6 separate regions of the Homo sapiens genome follow, and regions 2, 3, 4, 5 and 6 are each linked to region 1. The links are contacts of gene promoters, found by promoter capture Hi-C in blood cells and fetal thymus (Javierre and others, 2016). All regions are on one chromosome and are shown on one strand. The core of a region is centred on a gene start or on the middle of the fragment in contact, and the rest is flanking DNA. Distances in the headings are between cores, read along the strand shown. Region 1 holds the start of DSCC1 (DNA replication and sister chromatid cohesion 1). Region 2 has its middle 8.6 kb from the start of SNTB1. Region 3 overlaps MTBP (MDM2 binding protein). Region 4 overlaps MTBP (MDM2 binding protein). Region 5 overlaps MRPL13 (mitochondrial ribosomal protein L13). Region 6 has its middle 68 kb from the start of MRPL13.

Region 1 (2,548 bases), core at 25-2,524:
TTTAATAGAGCAACTACAATGGTTGATTCCCTTCAATAATAACTTCTTATCAGGCAACCACTGTCACATTCAGGATTTCATTCCACCGAATTCCTATGCATTCAAATGTAAAAGAGGCTAGTGAAGAAGTAGGTCACATGAACCAATCTTTCCACCACCAACGAAAGCACTGCCCAGACTCCTGGGATGCCCTACTCTGGTATTTTCGTATCATTTTACCCAAGAATTGAAAAAAATGTCTGCTCAGATCCTTTGAATTCAACACCTTACCCACCACTTTCTTTCACTTCAAGCAAGGTCTGATTTGCACTAACTAGTAGGAGGTCACCATCTCTTAAGTGATTCCTCCCAGACTATTTTAGCTCTCAGGGACAGCCAGGGCCCTCAACGATTCCCTAAGCATCTCTGGGAAAGTTTACACATTACGCTGTTACAAGCAATTCATGTATGTGTGCATAGTGAAAACCTTTTCTCTTAAAACTCTTAATACTGAAGTTCCCCAAACCTTTGGAAAATGTACAAGTCACAGATGCTCCTGTGACTTGTTTTTCCCTTCGGGTGCGTCCTCAACCTTGCTTAAATAAACCTCTATTGAACGAGACCTGCATCAGTCACTTTTCGGTTAACACTAGGTATTCAACGAATAGACTAGTCCCGCCGTTGTCTCCAGATATGATGGTGCCCTGACCCAAAGAAGCGAGATACTCCTTCCCAGGGCCTCGCTCCCGAGCATGGGTTATTTGCACAAAACCCCGCAGGAAGCTTTTAGAGCCACAGTCGGCTAGGCTGGAGTCAGACTCTGTTACCTCCTGACTCTGCCATCACGAGCAAGGAGCCTGCTTCCTCATTGGCAAAAGGGAATGACCAAGGCACCACCTTACAGGGTTGTGGCAACGGGCTCATGGAATTATACATGCCAAGTGGTTATCACAGGGCCCGCCACTGGCGGAAGGTGAGACAATGTGGACGGCGAGGAAATGGGAGCATCGGCTGGAAACCAGGGACGGAGATCGGGGATGGGGGGCGGGCAAGGGGACAGCGGAAAGGGTGGGCGAGGGATCCGTGTCCCAACCCGCCGAGTCGCAGCTCTGCCCCTGCGAGCTTCCGCCGAGACCGCCCCCCGGGAAGCCGCGTTTCCTTCCTGCAGTCGCGGTCCGGCGTGGGGCACGGAGGGGCTCGCGCTCCCAGAAGCCGGCAGGCCTTCCCGCGGGCGGGCCCGCAGCGCGCTCCGCCCCGGAAACACGCCCATGGCCGCCTTGGCGCGCTTTCAAACGCTCAGGTTTCCTACCTTCCGGCTGCTTGGGAACTTCTTTCTTGCCCGCCAAGCCCGCAGCCACCCGGGCGCGGCGGGACTCCTAGACCCGGCGCTGCGATGAAGAGGACCCGCGACGAGGTGGATGCGACGCTGCAGATCGCCAAGCTGAATGCGGCCGAGCTGCTGCCGGCGGTGCACTGCCTGGGCTTCGGCCCTGGGGCCAGCGGCGCTGCAGCCGGCGACTTCTGCCTGCTGGAGCTGGAGCCCACGCTGTGCCAGCAGCTGGAGGATGGACACAGGTGAGCCCTGGTCACGCGGCGCCCCCAGCCTCTGGCCGGCCACGTTATTTTCTCAGCGGGGAAAGTCGGGATAAGAAAACAGGGCCAGAGAGATGCACTGACCTGGCCGGGGGCTCATAGCAAGCTGCCTGTTCCCGAGGAGTCCACGCCTCCGGTGGGCCGTCCAGTTAGCTGCACTGCGGTGATGAGTAGCACTGGTCCAGCTGACCTTGGAGGCATGTGTCAGCGGGAGCAAGTCAGGAAATACTAATACAACCTCCGTGAAGTTTTTGAAGAGTTACCGGTGATTACAGGGACTCTACAGGACACCTGTCACTCTACCTTAAAATACAGTGGTGATACCCAATGTTTATAGAACTCTTGCCTTCCACTTATATTTATTTTACTCAGATGATAGATAGGAAGTGCTGGGAATCAGCTTACAGACTTGGTAATTGGGTGAGACCCCTACCCACCCCGAAGCAAACTTGCTTAGTAGGGATCTGAAGCTGTTTCTAATTCCAGGTCAGATACAAACTTGCTGCAAGATCATTGATTAGAAGTCGAAGTTGAGGTAGTTTTTTAAAGGCAGTCTTGAGAAGTCTAGAGAATCGTTATATCCCTCCACCCTGTGCAGCCCCAGCTCCTGCAAAATAGGGAGCTCCAGCTTGATTCTCTTTTGCACAATTGGTCCTCCGACACCTATATTTTATTAGGCTATTTTTTCTCTTTTTTCTTAATGGAATCCTTTAGGCTGTCTTTCAGTTTTCGTACTTTGCCCACCAAAGAGTGTTAGAGTAAACTGGCCATTCTTCAGATACCTGCTATATACCTCAAAGTACCTTTAAGGGAACTGAAAGAACTTCACTAGTCTGTTTCCATCCCGGTTCAGTTGGTGGAGAGTTGAGAAAGGAACTCAGGTGTGAGGACTTTCTCTCGGTCCAGTTCTAGTTAATCTAGCTGGCAAAAACAAAACAAAACAAAAACAAAAAAATAAAAACAGGCCCTGGAAACG
Region 2 (2,548 bases), core at 28-2,527, 960 kb before region 1:
CATTTGAAGCAATTCCACCCTGCTTCTTGTCTTCCATAACTTGACATTTTTGAAGAACCCAAGCCACTTGCTTTTTTGAATATCCCATAGTCTGAATCTGCCTGTTTGCCTGTATTTAGATGGTAGATTAGATCAAGCATCTATGTGGTACTTTGTGCACTTTTACTGGGATATATAAGAACAAAACAAACTGCAAAGAAATTTTGAACTTGTTCGGTAGTTTTGTTGTTGGTATTGCTATTGAAACAATAATTCTGAAACAATTTCCTTTTATACTGTAGAACGCAGAAAACTGAATTAATCTATTGGTATTTTTGAAAACCAAATTTCTCACTTATTGGGAGATACAAATGTGAATAAGGAAAGGTAAGGAAGTACCTTATGATGTTAGGTTTGAATTGGTGATATAAGTATGAACGCCTTCTGTCTTCCTTAGTAGCAATAAGCTTACCTGGTTCCTATGTGACCTTTCTTACTTGTTCTCCAGATCTTGGTTCCTATGTGACCTTTCTTACTAAAAGGAATCAGGGATCTTTAAAGGAATGGCTGATACCAGGACTAGGCAGATAAAATATAAGTTAATCCTGCCAGAAGGCAAAAAACAAACAAACAAAAAATGCTTAAGGACAAAGGGGACCTGTCAAAAGAATATAGGAGTCAGCTTGAAGAGGCTCATAGTGGCCAAATTTTGGATATCAAAACAACAAACAGAATGATAGTAATGAATATGGCACATTAAGGAAGAATCTATGTTGAAGTGAAATGTAAAAACGACGGCAACAAAAATAGCTGTATATGGGAGAAAGCTCTTCATTACAGAAGTATGTCTGCTGATAAATGTAGAAGGAATTATTAGATATGTTACTCACATTTTTAACATGCTCCCCATGTGGTTCTGATTCCCTCCAAAGTTTGGGAACAACTTCTAGATGTTACCTTGAAGCTCTTTAATTCTATAATAGCCATAAAACTTTAAACATAGTTCCTTCCCTGCATAAATAATATTCAACATAAACATATGAAAAACAGAGATTCTAGTTAGCCAATGATAATTTGTTTTCTCCTTTAAATTACTTCTGAAAGCATTTTTCTTCACTCTTCTCTATACTGGTCAGTCTGGCTATTCCTGAAATTTGCCATTCTATTGTAGTATGTTCCTGGGAGAATTCTTTCCCCTCTCTACTTCCACTACAATTTCCTTCCTCTGTGGTGCAAAATATTTATACTCATGGAGATGGGAAAAGGAGGCAGCTGCCTTAGACTGTCTCCAAGCTCTGCCTTTTGCTTGCTTTGGTTTTCTTTGTCCCTTCACCAGGCAGATGAGAACTTTCAGACATCCAGTTGCCTTTTTGGAGTTTAGTTCAGTGGACACTGTATGTAAATGCAGTGTTTTGTGATACCTCAAAGGGCTTGAATTTTCATTTCAGAAGTGAAGTACAGCAATTGCATTTTGCCTTTAAATGTGTGTTCTTCCTCCTGGCCTCCAAGTTTTACATCTAAGTAAATGATACTGTCTTAATCTGTTTGTGCTGCTAGAACAAAATACTTCAGACTGCCTAATTTATAAACAACAGAAATGTATTTTTCACAGCTCTAGAGGCTGGGAAGTCCAAGATCAAGGCACTGGCAGGTTTGGCACCTAGTGAGGGACTGGTCTCTTCTTCCAAGATGGCACCTTGTTGCTGAATCTTCCAGAAGGGACAAATGTTGTGTCCTCACATGGCAGAAGAGATAGAAAGGCAAAAGGGGCTACCTAGTTATTTCCAGCCCTTTCATAATGTCGCCAGTTGCATTATGAGGGCTCTACTCTCATGACTTAATCAACTCCCAAAGGCCCCACCTCTTAATACTATCATATTGGGTCTTACATTCTGACATGAGTTTTGGGGGAACACATACATTCAAACCATAACAAATACCTAAATGCCCTTATCTAGGCCCTCGACTATAATGCCGTTAGGCCATGACCTGTTTCATGTTCCACTATTCCCTCAAACTTGACAAATCTAAAATGAACTCACATCATCTCCTGACAAGTTCTGTCACACTCTTTCTGACTACCTAAGTTCATGCCTAGTATATTGTAACAGTTATGAGCATAAGCTTTGGAGGAGAACAGATGTAAGTTAGACTAGGTTTGAACCCCAACTCCAATGCTTATAGGAAGTGTGAACTTGTTGAGTGCAACATTCTCATCTGTAATATGGGGATGATATTACCTACCTCAAATAATTTCTGTCTGGAATCAATGGTATATGTTAAGTACACACAGAGTCTAACACAGTGTAAAGGTTTAATAAAAACTAATTATTATTTCATTGGCTTCTTCTCCTTTTCCTAGTTCTCTATCAAATAAATCATCACGAGCTGTTCAATCTTTTTTTAAAACCATCTCTTTTATTTCCACACAAATACTGATTTTTAGCCATCCTGCCTAGGCCATTGAACAATCTCCTTAAGTAGTTTTCCTGCTTCAGTTTGCCAAAGGCTTGTATTCCTATTGTGTGCAAGGAATCATGCTAAAGCATCTCAGTCTTTCCCAACTACG
Region 3 (2,548 bases), core at 13-2,512, 610 kb before region 1:
CATTGTGGAAATCATGTTTCTAGCTTGCAAATTCCTCTCTCTGAAGAAATATTTCCCAGCCAGAAGATTAGTGAACATCATAACTCCCTAACAATCCTATCTTGTCTTTTCCTAATCTAGCTTAATTATTAGTAAAATAAGCTTTACTCCAAGAAGTTTTTACTTATATTCTGGGGCTAATCATAGTTACATAGATAAATAATTTGTTTAAGCTAAGATGCTGACTGAAGATCACACAAAGCAATAGAATTTAAGCACCATGAAAGTTTCTTGAGAAAGGGCCTGTCCATCTTATTCTATCCAATATTACAAACAAGCATCTGGCAGATAGCAGCAGTAAAAACATTTTTAAAAAAATTAATTGTTTAATAAATGAAACCCAAGGTATTTATTTATTTATTTTTTGAGACGGAGTCTCGCTCTGTTGCCCAGGCTCGAGTACAGTGGCGTGATCTTGGCTCATTGCAACCTCCACCTCCTGGGTACAAGTGATTCTCCTGCCTCAGCCTCCCGCATAGCTGGGACTACAGGCAAGCGCCTCCTTGCCCGGCTAATTTTTTGTATTTTTAGTAGAGATGGGGTTTCACCATGTTGGCCAGGCTGGTCTCAAACTCTTGACCTCAGGTGATCCACCTGCCTCGGCCTCCCAAAGTGCTGGAATTAAAGGCGTGAGCCACCGCGCCCAGCTGAAACCCAAGTTATAAAGCACTAGATTTCAAAGAACTGGTATGTAATTAAACACTTTTTCAAAAATGTGAAAAATGACCAGGTGCAGTGGCTCACACCTGTAAAGCCAGCACTTTGGGAGGCCGAGGTGGGTGGGTCACTTGAGGTCAGGAGTTCAAGACCAGCCTGGCCAACATGACGAAACCCTGTCTCCACTAAATATACAAAAAAAAATTAGCCAACCATGGTGGTGTATGCTTGTAGTTCTAGGTAGTTGAGTGGCTGAGCCGGGAGAATTGCTTGAACCCGGGAGACGGAGGTTGCAGTGAGCCAAGATCACACCATTGCACTCCAGCCTGGGCAATAGAGCGAGACTCCGTCTAAAAAAAAAAAAAAAAAAAGAGTAAAAAACAAATCATAACTCAATGTTTAAGAAAAATAAATTACTTCATATTTAGATTTGTTTTCTAAGTTACATAATATATGGCTTCAAAAATAATCCCTTTTGCTGCATTGAACTGGGAACATAGTTATAAAGTCTCTATTTCTTACTAATAAAGTATGTTGTAATATTTTACAATCATGGTTTGAGAAGAAAAAATGATAATCTAATACAACAAATTTAAAACAAAACAACTGAAAATATATTATTAAACATTAATAGTTTAGGGTGCTTCTAGGATTAGTGTTGCCTATCTTCAATAACTAGATGGACTAATGCTTATGTTACACCTGTGTTAAACTATAGGTACAGATCTCATTTTGACTTGAAATAGTCTCTATAAATTAGCCAGGCATGGTGGCACATGCCTGTAATCCCAGCTACTTGGGAGGCTGAGGCAGGAGAATCACTTGAACCCGGGAGGCAGAGGTTGCGGTGAGCTGAGATCGCGCCACTGCTCTCCAGCCTGGGTGACAGAGCGAGACTCCGTCTCAAAAAAAAAAAAAAAAAAAAAAGTCTCTATAAGATTTCTACAAATTTCTCTGTAAAATTTCTATAAATTTCATCATACCTTCAAATTACTTAGAGAATATCTAATATCTAGCGCTTTATACTTTTAAGGAAACTGCTTCACATATGTGTGTCCATCATTTGGGCCACATAAACTTCAAAGACAATAAAAAATTAGTTAGCAACCATCATTTATATCATACTTGGTAGTTTATAAAATACATTTCAATTTGGTTTTTATTACAACTCTGAAATAGGTAACAGAGGGATTATTATTTCCAGTTTACAATATTAAGAGCTGTAAGCCAGTGAGTGGCATAGCTATGGCTTAAAGTCAAGTTTTCTAAAAAACATGCTCTTCTATTTAAGACTTTCTACTATACCATCTATATTCCTTTCCTCCCTTATTTGGCAATATAGATAATTAATGATAAATAACAATTTTCTCAATCCATACAAGGAAGCATCTCCAAAAAATTAGGTGACTGGACAGGGATATACAGAGAGCTACTTGGCTACCTGGATTAAAATAGAAGCAGGGTATTTTTTATTCTCAGTGCACTTAAAAAATATATACTAATTCATAAGCTGTCTCTGCAAATAGTTTGGAGAAATGTATGGCCTTATTAATCTCTATCTAAACTAGGGTCTCTTGACTTATTCCCTATCTCAGGCTGTTTATTTCTTCATAATTCTTATTATGTCTGTAGTTATTTATTTTCTGTTGGTCCCCTAAAATGTAAGTTCCACAAATACAGAAGCTTCTTCTGTACACTTCATTACTGGGTTCCCGAAATCTAGTATAGTACCTCATACACAGTAGAATATATGTTGGATAAATGATAAAAGATAAATTTTAAAATTTCAAAATTTAGTAAATTAGTTATTCTTAGAGGATGAAAGCCAGGTTAATATTGGTAAAGGCCACTT
Region 4 (2,548 bases), core at 32-2,531, 590 kb before region 1:
CCCTTCTGTCTGTTCTTTGTCATTGCCATTTAAATACACACAAGTGTTTCTCAAAGTATTTCTTTTTTAAAAAAAGGGGTCCCTTTAAATTCATCTTCACTTCACTTTCTTAGCTCTTCCTCAAAGATAAACTTCTGAAGGTACTGTCCACACCTGACTGTCTCCATTTCCTCATCAACTTTTCCACTTCCTTCCAAATGCATTTCAATCTGTTTTTTGTCTCCAATATGCCACTGAAAGAACACTCACCAAAGTCACCAATAACTGACTTGTTACTAAATCTAGCGGTTTTTAGTTCTGTTGTTATTTGACCTCTCAGCATAAGAGAAGAATCAAAGATGACACATTTTACTACTTTCTCTTTAAAACACTTGGCTTCTGTGGCACCCATCCTTCTGGCTGCTCCTTATTCTTTTTAAAAACTGGTGTTCAGTTCTTCTAAATACTGGGATTCAGTTTGAGGCTTTCTGTTCTCCCTACTATCCGTAAGCAATCCCATCCTTTCTCATGCCTTCACCTGACATCTGTACATTGGTTCTATAATTTGTATTAATTGGTGCAAAAATAATTGGGTTTTTTTGCCATTATTTTTGCACCAACCTAATATCTCCAGCCCTCTCCTACATCTTGAGTTCCCGACACAAATATCCAACTTTTATAAAACATTTTTACTTTATTTTTACATTTTATTTTAGTAAACATGTAAAACATTTTTACATTTTTACTTCTTACTTTGCATCTTACAGGCAACTATTAACAGGTTCCAAACTGAACACGTCATATTCCCTCCAAATCTGGTTCTTTCTCACTAAATGCCACCATCATGCCATTACCCACACCAGAAACCTAATGTCATCCTTGATTCTTTTCTCATCCTTTCCTTCTTCTACATCATACCAATTCAACGCTAAGGTAGGTGAATTCTACCCCCATAATTTCCTTCAGATCTATCCACTTTCCTCCACCCTGGCTGCCTCTCCCATTCCTCATTTGGTCTTCTACAGAATCCCCCAGTACAGAAATAGCTATACTTTTCTCTAATCCATCTACTATACTGCAGGGAGAATACCTCAAAAGCACAGATCTGATCATGTCTCCTCCTTAATTAAAGCTTTTAATGGCTGCTGATTACCATTAGGAAAAAATCCAAACACCCTGACACTATTTACAAAATCCTCTAAATAGCCATGCCTACCTCTCCACCCTTATCCCAATTATAATCATATTGTACTTTCCGTCCCTCAAACTTGCCATATTACTGAAATCAATAATCCTAGTATGGCAGGAAATTCAGCGCAGGCAGTTTCCATTTGCATGGTTCTGATATGCACAAATTCCAGTTACTGTAGCTTAAACAACACCAGTTCCCCAACAACCTGGTTCAAATTTCAGTTACCATGGTATATTCACTAACTATAACTGCATAGTTTAAGACTTCATTGCAAGCTTCTCAGTCTACAAAACCACTGTATACATAAAAGATGTGTGTCATGATCAGTAACCAATCATGTTACTACTTTTAAAGTACGTCATTGATTGGTCACTGTGCAAGTGCCATTCAGTTCACACACAGGTAGCAAAGGATGTAATTGTGTTGCCTTCTGGTTTCCCAGTGTAAACCCATGTGATATTTTATAAAAATGGATAAATGGATGAGGGAATTTTTTAAAAAGAGAGAGATAAAGAAACACCAAAGAAACAAAAAGTGCTAACACTGAAAGCAATCTTCAAAGCTAATGTAAATAGAGTTCTAAAAATAGCTGCTGTGACAAACACCTTTTGATCAAAAAGGTGAAGATGTCCCAGAGAAAATGAGGCTAGCAAAAACCTTAATATTAAAGGAACTCAGAGATATTTCACAACATTGAAAGTCCAGGTCGGGCACAGTGGCTCACATCTGTAATCCCGGCACTTTGGGAGGCCAAAACAGGTGGATTACTTGAGCCCAGGTGTTCAAGACCAGCCTGGGCAACATAATGAAACCCTGTCTCTACAAAAAGTTAAAAAATTAGCCAGGTGTGGTGGCTCATGCCTATAGTCCCTGCTACTCAGGAGGCTAAGGTAGGAGGATAGTGACACTTGAGCCGGGGAGGTTGAGGCTGCAGTGAAGCATGATTGAGCCACTGGACTCCAGCCTGAGCAACAAAGTGGGACCCTGTCTCAAAAAAAGAAAAAAAAAATCGAAGAATAAAACATTGGAAGTTGATACAACTGGAATATGATAATTCGCCAATAAAAGATGTTCATTCTGTATCATAAGTTACGTGATGATGTGAAGGTGGCAAGCACTGCTCAAACTACTCTTGGTAAGGTTTTTACAAAGAAATAAAACACTTTAATTCTCAATGTACCTAAGGTTTTAAAATTACAGGGTACAAAATAAATTTTATTTTTACTATTTTTTTATTTCCATAAAATTTTATAACAGTAAGAGAATTTTTAATGTTTTGACAAAAGATATTAAAGGTCATGGGACAATTCTAATTTTTCTCATTGATTATATTAGGATTGCTTTGCACAATCAATTATAAAGAACAACACTATCATA
Region 5 (2,548 bases), core at 22-2,521, 550 kb before region 1:
TATGAGGACAACCATTACTGATGCAGAACTGTCTCTTCGAAAGTAGGATGAGGATTAGGGAGTTCAATATGTGATCCATTCAGCTCTGTAAAAGAAAAGCTGGATTCCAGATGCTGGGAACATTAGCACTGCATTGGTGAGCATCCTCTTCAGTCTATAGCTCTAGAAGAGAGCACGGATTTAAGCTTAGTGCATATTCTCTGATATGAAAGCTGTTAATCCTAAAAACTACCCATTTTCAGATTTACTTAATACTCAGAAAAAGATTATTTTTACCTATGCCTTTATAAAACATGCTTCAGATCAGAGACTTAAAGACAATGTAGAAGGATTTTTACCTTTTCTAATCCATAAGTTGCTGGGATCTGGACAGCTTTAAGATTTTCCATAATTTTCTTCTAGTCTAGTCATGTGGCATTTTCTCCACACAATTTAACTTAATTTGCTGCTCTTCACAGTCAGCAGTTACTAGCTGGACTTGTGGACTAAGGTTACTTTCCAACTTTCCTACCTATTTCAACCAGTTCAGCATTGACTTCAATGATAGACTTCAGTCTTTCCAGTCCTGGGTTTTGCTCAAATTAGGCATTCTAAGCTGTACTGTTCTTTTGGATGTGAATAGATCAGGACTGGCTAGTAAAATAAAAAAGTAGTCTCTATTTAAACAACAAAACCCAAATCATTTATAAGTCCTAGCTGATACAGATTTTGACTAAAAAAGTGCAGTTGAATGTAATGGCAATTTCTGTTCATTTTAATTGAAAAAATCATTTGGCAAAAATTTTCAACAATCTTACAGGTTTAGTTTATTTAAAAGTATGTTGATCTGTAGGTCTGGATCTGAAAGGGAAGAAACAAAAAAGAATAATCAAGAAAGGATTTAAAAAAACATTTTATTTAAATGTATGTTGAGCTTTTTCGGATCAGGATGGTGCTACAGTGCCTAGGAAAATTAGTATTAAGGCACCATTACTTTACCTCTCAGTATAGCTAGCATCTTTAAAGAATATGTGATGTCACCAGATTTCCTGAAATGGTTTATTCTAAATAATTTCATTCATTCAATGGAAGTGACTTAAAACTCAAACTGACCTTTTATCGCTTTTAAGATTAGTTCACCATCCAAATATTATTTTAGTCTTTTAAATGTTTCATAGAATAAGCATTATACTAAGAAATATTATGTAAGAGTGAAAAGACATAAAACCTATTGAAGAAAAAAATTTTTTTGAGATTTATTACACTTAAGCTACACTCAATTTCCTGGACTTACAGCTGAAATAGGGAATTTTTTTACTTGAAAAATAAATTATTCTTAGTAGGACCAATAATGTATTTTTTGTTTTGTTTTGTTTTGTTTTGTTTTGTTTTGTTTTGTTTTGTTTTAGATGGAGTTTTGCTCTTTTTGCCCAGGCTGGGGTGGTGAAATGGCGCGATCTCGGCTCACTGCAACCTCTGCCTCCCGGGTTCAAGCAATTCTCCTGCCTCATCCTCCCAAGTAGCTGGGATTACAGGAGCCCGCCACCACGCCCAGCTAATTTTTTGTATTTTTTGTAGAGACTGGGTTTCACCATGTTGGCCAGGATGGTCTCGATCTCTTGACCTCATGATCTGCCCACCTCGGCCTCCCAAAGTGCTGGGAAGTAGGACCAATAATGTTAAGTGTCACTTATCTTAATGTAGCATAAACCATGTGCTTCATAACTTGATGTTTTGTTTCATTCACAACCAAGTAAATTTTTCCTACCATTTTATAATACAAACTAAAATCTCCGAAAAGTTTTTTCCTAATGTTAAGAGGTGAGAAATTACTCCATTTTCAAGATAATATAAATGTTTTGACTTCTGTCATTTCTGAATTCTGAATTTGAATCTGCTTTTTTGATATGTGCTTATTTCATCCTAATGAGTAGCAGTATTTTGCTTGTTTCATCTAATGAGTAGCAGGCAGTGTTTTGCATAGGGATGCGTATGGTAAAGAATTTGCTATAGGAAACAGAATGATGTGGCATGTGGTGTGATTTTAACTGTTTTTGAGCAGTCACAAGCACCAGAGAATATTTTCTACAACTCAGATGAGGCTTTTTAAAGTTCTGTTTTCTCACTCAAAATGTAATACTATTTTCGAAAGTTACTTTGTATAAAGGCAGTTTTTGCTAGTGACAAGTATCTGCAAAATAGATAGTTGTTACAGAACATTTGATAGCTATGGAAAGTTTAGCACAATTTAGAGAATGAATTAAGGAAAGTTTTATGTTAGCTATTTCTTAGATGATTCATTAATCTCCCAAGTATATTTTAAGCACATAAATGAAAATTTAAAACTTTCGTCTTTCACTTCAAAGATCAAAGCTTGTGTGTGTTTCATATATTTTTATATATAAGTATACTATATATAAATTGTATATAAAATATATATCATAGCTGTATTAGATAACAATTACACACACACACACACACACACACACACACACACACATGCACACATATATAATCCACTGTTAGAAACTGCTTTATAAAGATGAGGACTGGGTCCTGCTCACTACTT
Region 6 (2,548 bases), core at 14-2,513, 520 kb before region 1:
CACCCAAAAATGGATGTCTTCAATAATTATACCTTTCTTTTCTGTCTTATTCAGTTACTTTTACTTTGTTAGCATACAGAATTTTAGATTTTACAATATATATTTTTACTACTCTAGATTTCATTATAAAACTTACTTTGTTAGGTTAATATAGTTGAATTTTATGACATTATTCATGAATTTTTAAAAATCAATAAGATAAAATGAAATTAAACAAAGAAACAAACAACAAAATGTAGTTTTTATGCCAGCATATACTTTTTGTTACATAGTAAGATGCAGAGAAAAATTAAACCATGAGTAGCATTTATGCATTGATAAATGCTACTTAAACAAGAAAATCATTCCAACACTCCCAATAATGAATTTACTCTATTGCCCATTATTCTGCTTTCAAAATTATCATTGCCTACCATCTTTCTAACTGTCAATGACTCATTTTTATTCATTCATTCCAGATCATTAATAATAATGATGATACTTAAAGGGCAATAGATTATTTGTAAAGCAGAATTTTATTCTAAAATCTTTTATGATTTTCTAATAAAGTCTTAAGCTTCTGAGAGCACATACTTGTTGCAAAATATTTTTCAAACAATATAAAACTTTTAAGCATTAACATTTAAGTAAAATTTACTTAATTTTTGTTGATAATAGAGTTATTCTAAAGAGTATAGATATAACCAGGACTTTGTGGCAAAGGAGTTTTCTAAACTCTGAGCTTGTCTAGCACAAATGAACACTTTCCATTAATGTTTCTGATGCCACATCAAATTAGAGTGAAAAGTTGTGTTTTTTTTTTAAACCAAATATTTTGGTTCATACTTGGAAACCTCCATTCTGCATTTGAACAGCGCTTCTTGTTGGGGACAGGCCCAAAGGGATTAATCCTTGTCTTGCTGTCACAGCTTAATTAGACATCCAAAATCATTCCTTTCTGTTTCATCCTTCTTAAGTTCCTATCTGCTACTAATAATGTACTTACTCAGAAAAAAAAAAGACAAAAAAGAAAAACCTCAAAGCCAACATGTCATTCTCAAATCATTCTCTCTCCTCTTCTCAAATTTATCTCTCCCTTAATGGACTTACCATTCAACCAATCTCCCAAACTTGAAATCATGAAGCCGTTCGTTCTTTCCTTCCTCATGTCACTACCCTAGATCCCATCAGTCATCAAGTTCTGCCCAGAATCTTTCCTCAACAGTCCTCAAAGCTGGTGCTTCCTACTCTTTGTCCACTGCAGTGCTGTGGTCCAGGCTGTCACCATCTGAACGACTGCAGCAGGCAGCACAGTACATATGCGGGAGGTTGCGTGAAATTTGGGAACAAACCAATGGTTAGAATCCCTGCTTTGCCTCTTCTGTGCATGTATGTGACCTTGGGTGTGTTACTTACCTTCCATGTTTCAACATTTGCAAAAAAGAAAAGAAGAAAAGGTAATACCTACCTTAATTTGTAAAAATCAACTTCCTATGAAGCGCCCAGAACAGAAGCTAACATATAGGAAGTCTTCATTAAATGTCTTTTTCTTTCCTCAATCTTTTCCCACCCCAGTCTATCTTGTACATTCTATAAAAATTGTACCCCAAAATAATAACTCTAATCAGGTCACTCATCTGCTTAAAGATATCCACTGCCCCTGTTCCCTCAGATAAAAATCTCAACATCGGATAGAAGATCTTCCACAATCTGCTCCAAGCCATCTTTCCTGCTTCAACTGAGAGCAGAAAATTAGGGAGCTCCTGTGTCACTCTATTCATCTCTTCCTTTCCAGCACCCCAACACATGGCTGAACTCATGGACCCCAGATCCTAATTAAAAGTTTGATGGATGGATGCATGCATGCATGGAGAGATGGATGAATACATGAACACATGAATGAATAAATTTATCAGAAGACAAGACTTACATACTTCCCTTACATTATGGAACATTTACTAGATCTGAATTTGAAAGCTATAGAAGCTTATCATTCACTTCCAGGCGTTATTCCTGTCTCCCAAATTTTCTGCCTTATACTGATAGAAAAGTTTTCCTGCTATAAGCAGAGTATGTGATTTGGCCCAGAATATAGATGAAACTGCGCTAGGATGAAATGCTTCTTAATAGAATTCTACAAACATTTGTTGAGCAGCTGTCAAGAGTCAAGCATGCTCTGATCAGTCTGAGACCCCTTAAAGAATGCACATCGTATGGGAGAAGAGAGGTCAAAGAGTTAGCTGGTAAAGGGGGCTGCGGTGTCATAGTTGTCAAGATGGTCATGGTGGAGTTTAGTAAAGGTTTGACACAGGAAGAGGAGCCTCAGGTGTCTACAAAGTTGAGTATGAGTTTAAGCAGGTCATTTAAACTAAGGTGGGGCAGAGAAGAAGGACTTTCCATGTGGAAGATAAAGCATGTCAAAGATGTAGAAACAAGAGAGAACAGGCACAAGTTCATTATGGCTCTAGTTTGGAAAGTATTTTGTTAAGATACCTATTTAAATATACTTCCTCAAAAATAAAATATAAATGACCAAGTTGGAGAGAATTTGTTGACACAAAAATGAAAA

The links. Contacts are between HindIII fragments. The CHiCAGO score rates a contact against its expected background, and 5 or more counts as called.
Region 2: a contact is called between a fragment that was not itself captured here and the fragment with the promoter of DSCC1 in region 1, in 1 of 17 cell types (total B cells). The highest score is 5.8, in total B cells.
Region 3: a fragment that was not itself captured here is called in contact with the fragment with the promoter of DSCC1 in region 1 in 1 of 17 cell types (total CD4 T cells); the score reaches 5.1 in total CD4 T cells.
Region 4: a contact is called between a fragment that was not itself captured here and the fragment with the promoter of DSCC1 in region 1, in 9 of 17 cell types (total B cells, naive B cells, non-activated CD4 T cells and 6 more). The highest score is 10.5, in total B cells.
Region 5: a contact is called between a fragment that was not itself captured here and the fragment with the promoter of DSCC1 in region 1, in 12 of 17 cell types (erythroblasts, naive B cells, total B cells and 9 more). The highest score is 16.6, in erythroblasts.
Region 6: a fragment that was not itself captured here is called in contact with the fragment with the promoter of DSCC1 in region 1 in 1 of 17 cell types (erythroblasts); the score reaches 5.5 in erythroblasts.

The regions. Positions count from the first base shown.
Region 1 is chr8:119,854,620-119,857,167 of GRCh38, reverse strand. It overlaps DSCC1 (DNA replication and sister chromatid cohesion 1), which reads left to right and starts at 1,274. Exons shown (of 9, transcript NM_024094.3): 1 at 1,274-1,554. The coding sequence starts at 1,373. It overlaps LOC105375728 (a long non-coding RNA gene), which reads right to left. Exons shown (of 4, transcript XR_928590.3): 2 at 2,366-2,493; 3 at 1,289-1,762. RefSeq lists a silencer at 1,123-1,182 and an enhancer at 1,293-1,602. The HindIII fragment of the contact is 2,867 bases long and covers 765-2,548 here.
Region 2 is chr8:120,819,325-120,821,872 of GRCh38, reverse strand. No RefSeq gene overlaps it. Among named protein-coding and RNA genes, the nearest start is that of SNTB1, 8.6 kb to the right of the region's middle. The HindIII fragment of the contact is 1,657 bases long and covers 449-2,105 here.
Region 3 is chr8:120,464,731-120,467,278 of GRCh38, reverse strand. All of the region lies in intron 10 of MTBP (MDM2 binding protein), which reads right to left. Among named protein-coding and RNA genes, the nearest start is that of MTBP, 21 kb to the right of the region's middle. The HindIII fragment of the contact is 2,238 bases long and covers 144-2,381 here.
Region 4 is chr8:120,447,559-120,450,106 of GRCh38, reverse strand. The region is part of intron 2 of MTBP (MDM2 binding protein); the gene reads right to left. Among named protein-coding and RNA genes, the nearest start is that of MTBP, 3.4 kb to the right of the region's middle. The HindIII fragment of the contact is 335 bases long and covers 1,114-1,448 here.
Region 5 is chr8:120,406,487-120,409,034 of GRCh38, reverse strand. The region is part of intron 6 of MRPL13 (mitochondrial ribosomal protein L13); the gene reads left to right. Among named protein-coding and RNA genes, the nearest start is that of MRPL13, 37 kb to the left of the region's middle. The HindIII fragment of the contact is 2,167 bases long and covers 188-2,354 here.
Region 6 is chr8:120,375,685-120,378,232 of GRCh38, reverse strand. No RefSeq gene overlaps it. Among named protein-coding and RNA genes, the nearest start is that of MRPL13, 68 kb to the left of the region's middle. The HindIII fragment of the contact is 1,409 bases long and covers 559-1,967 here.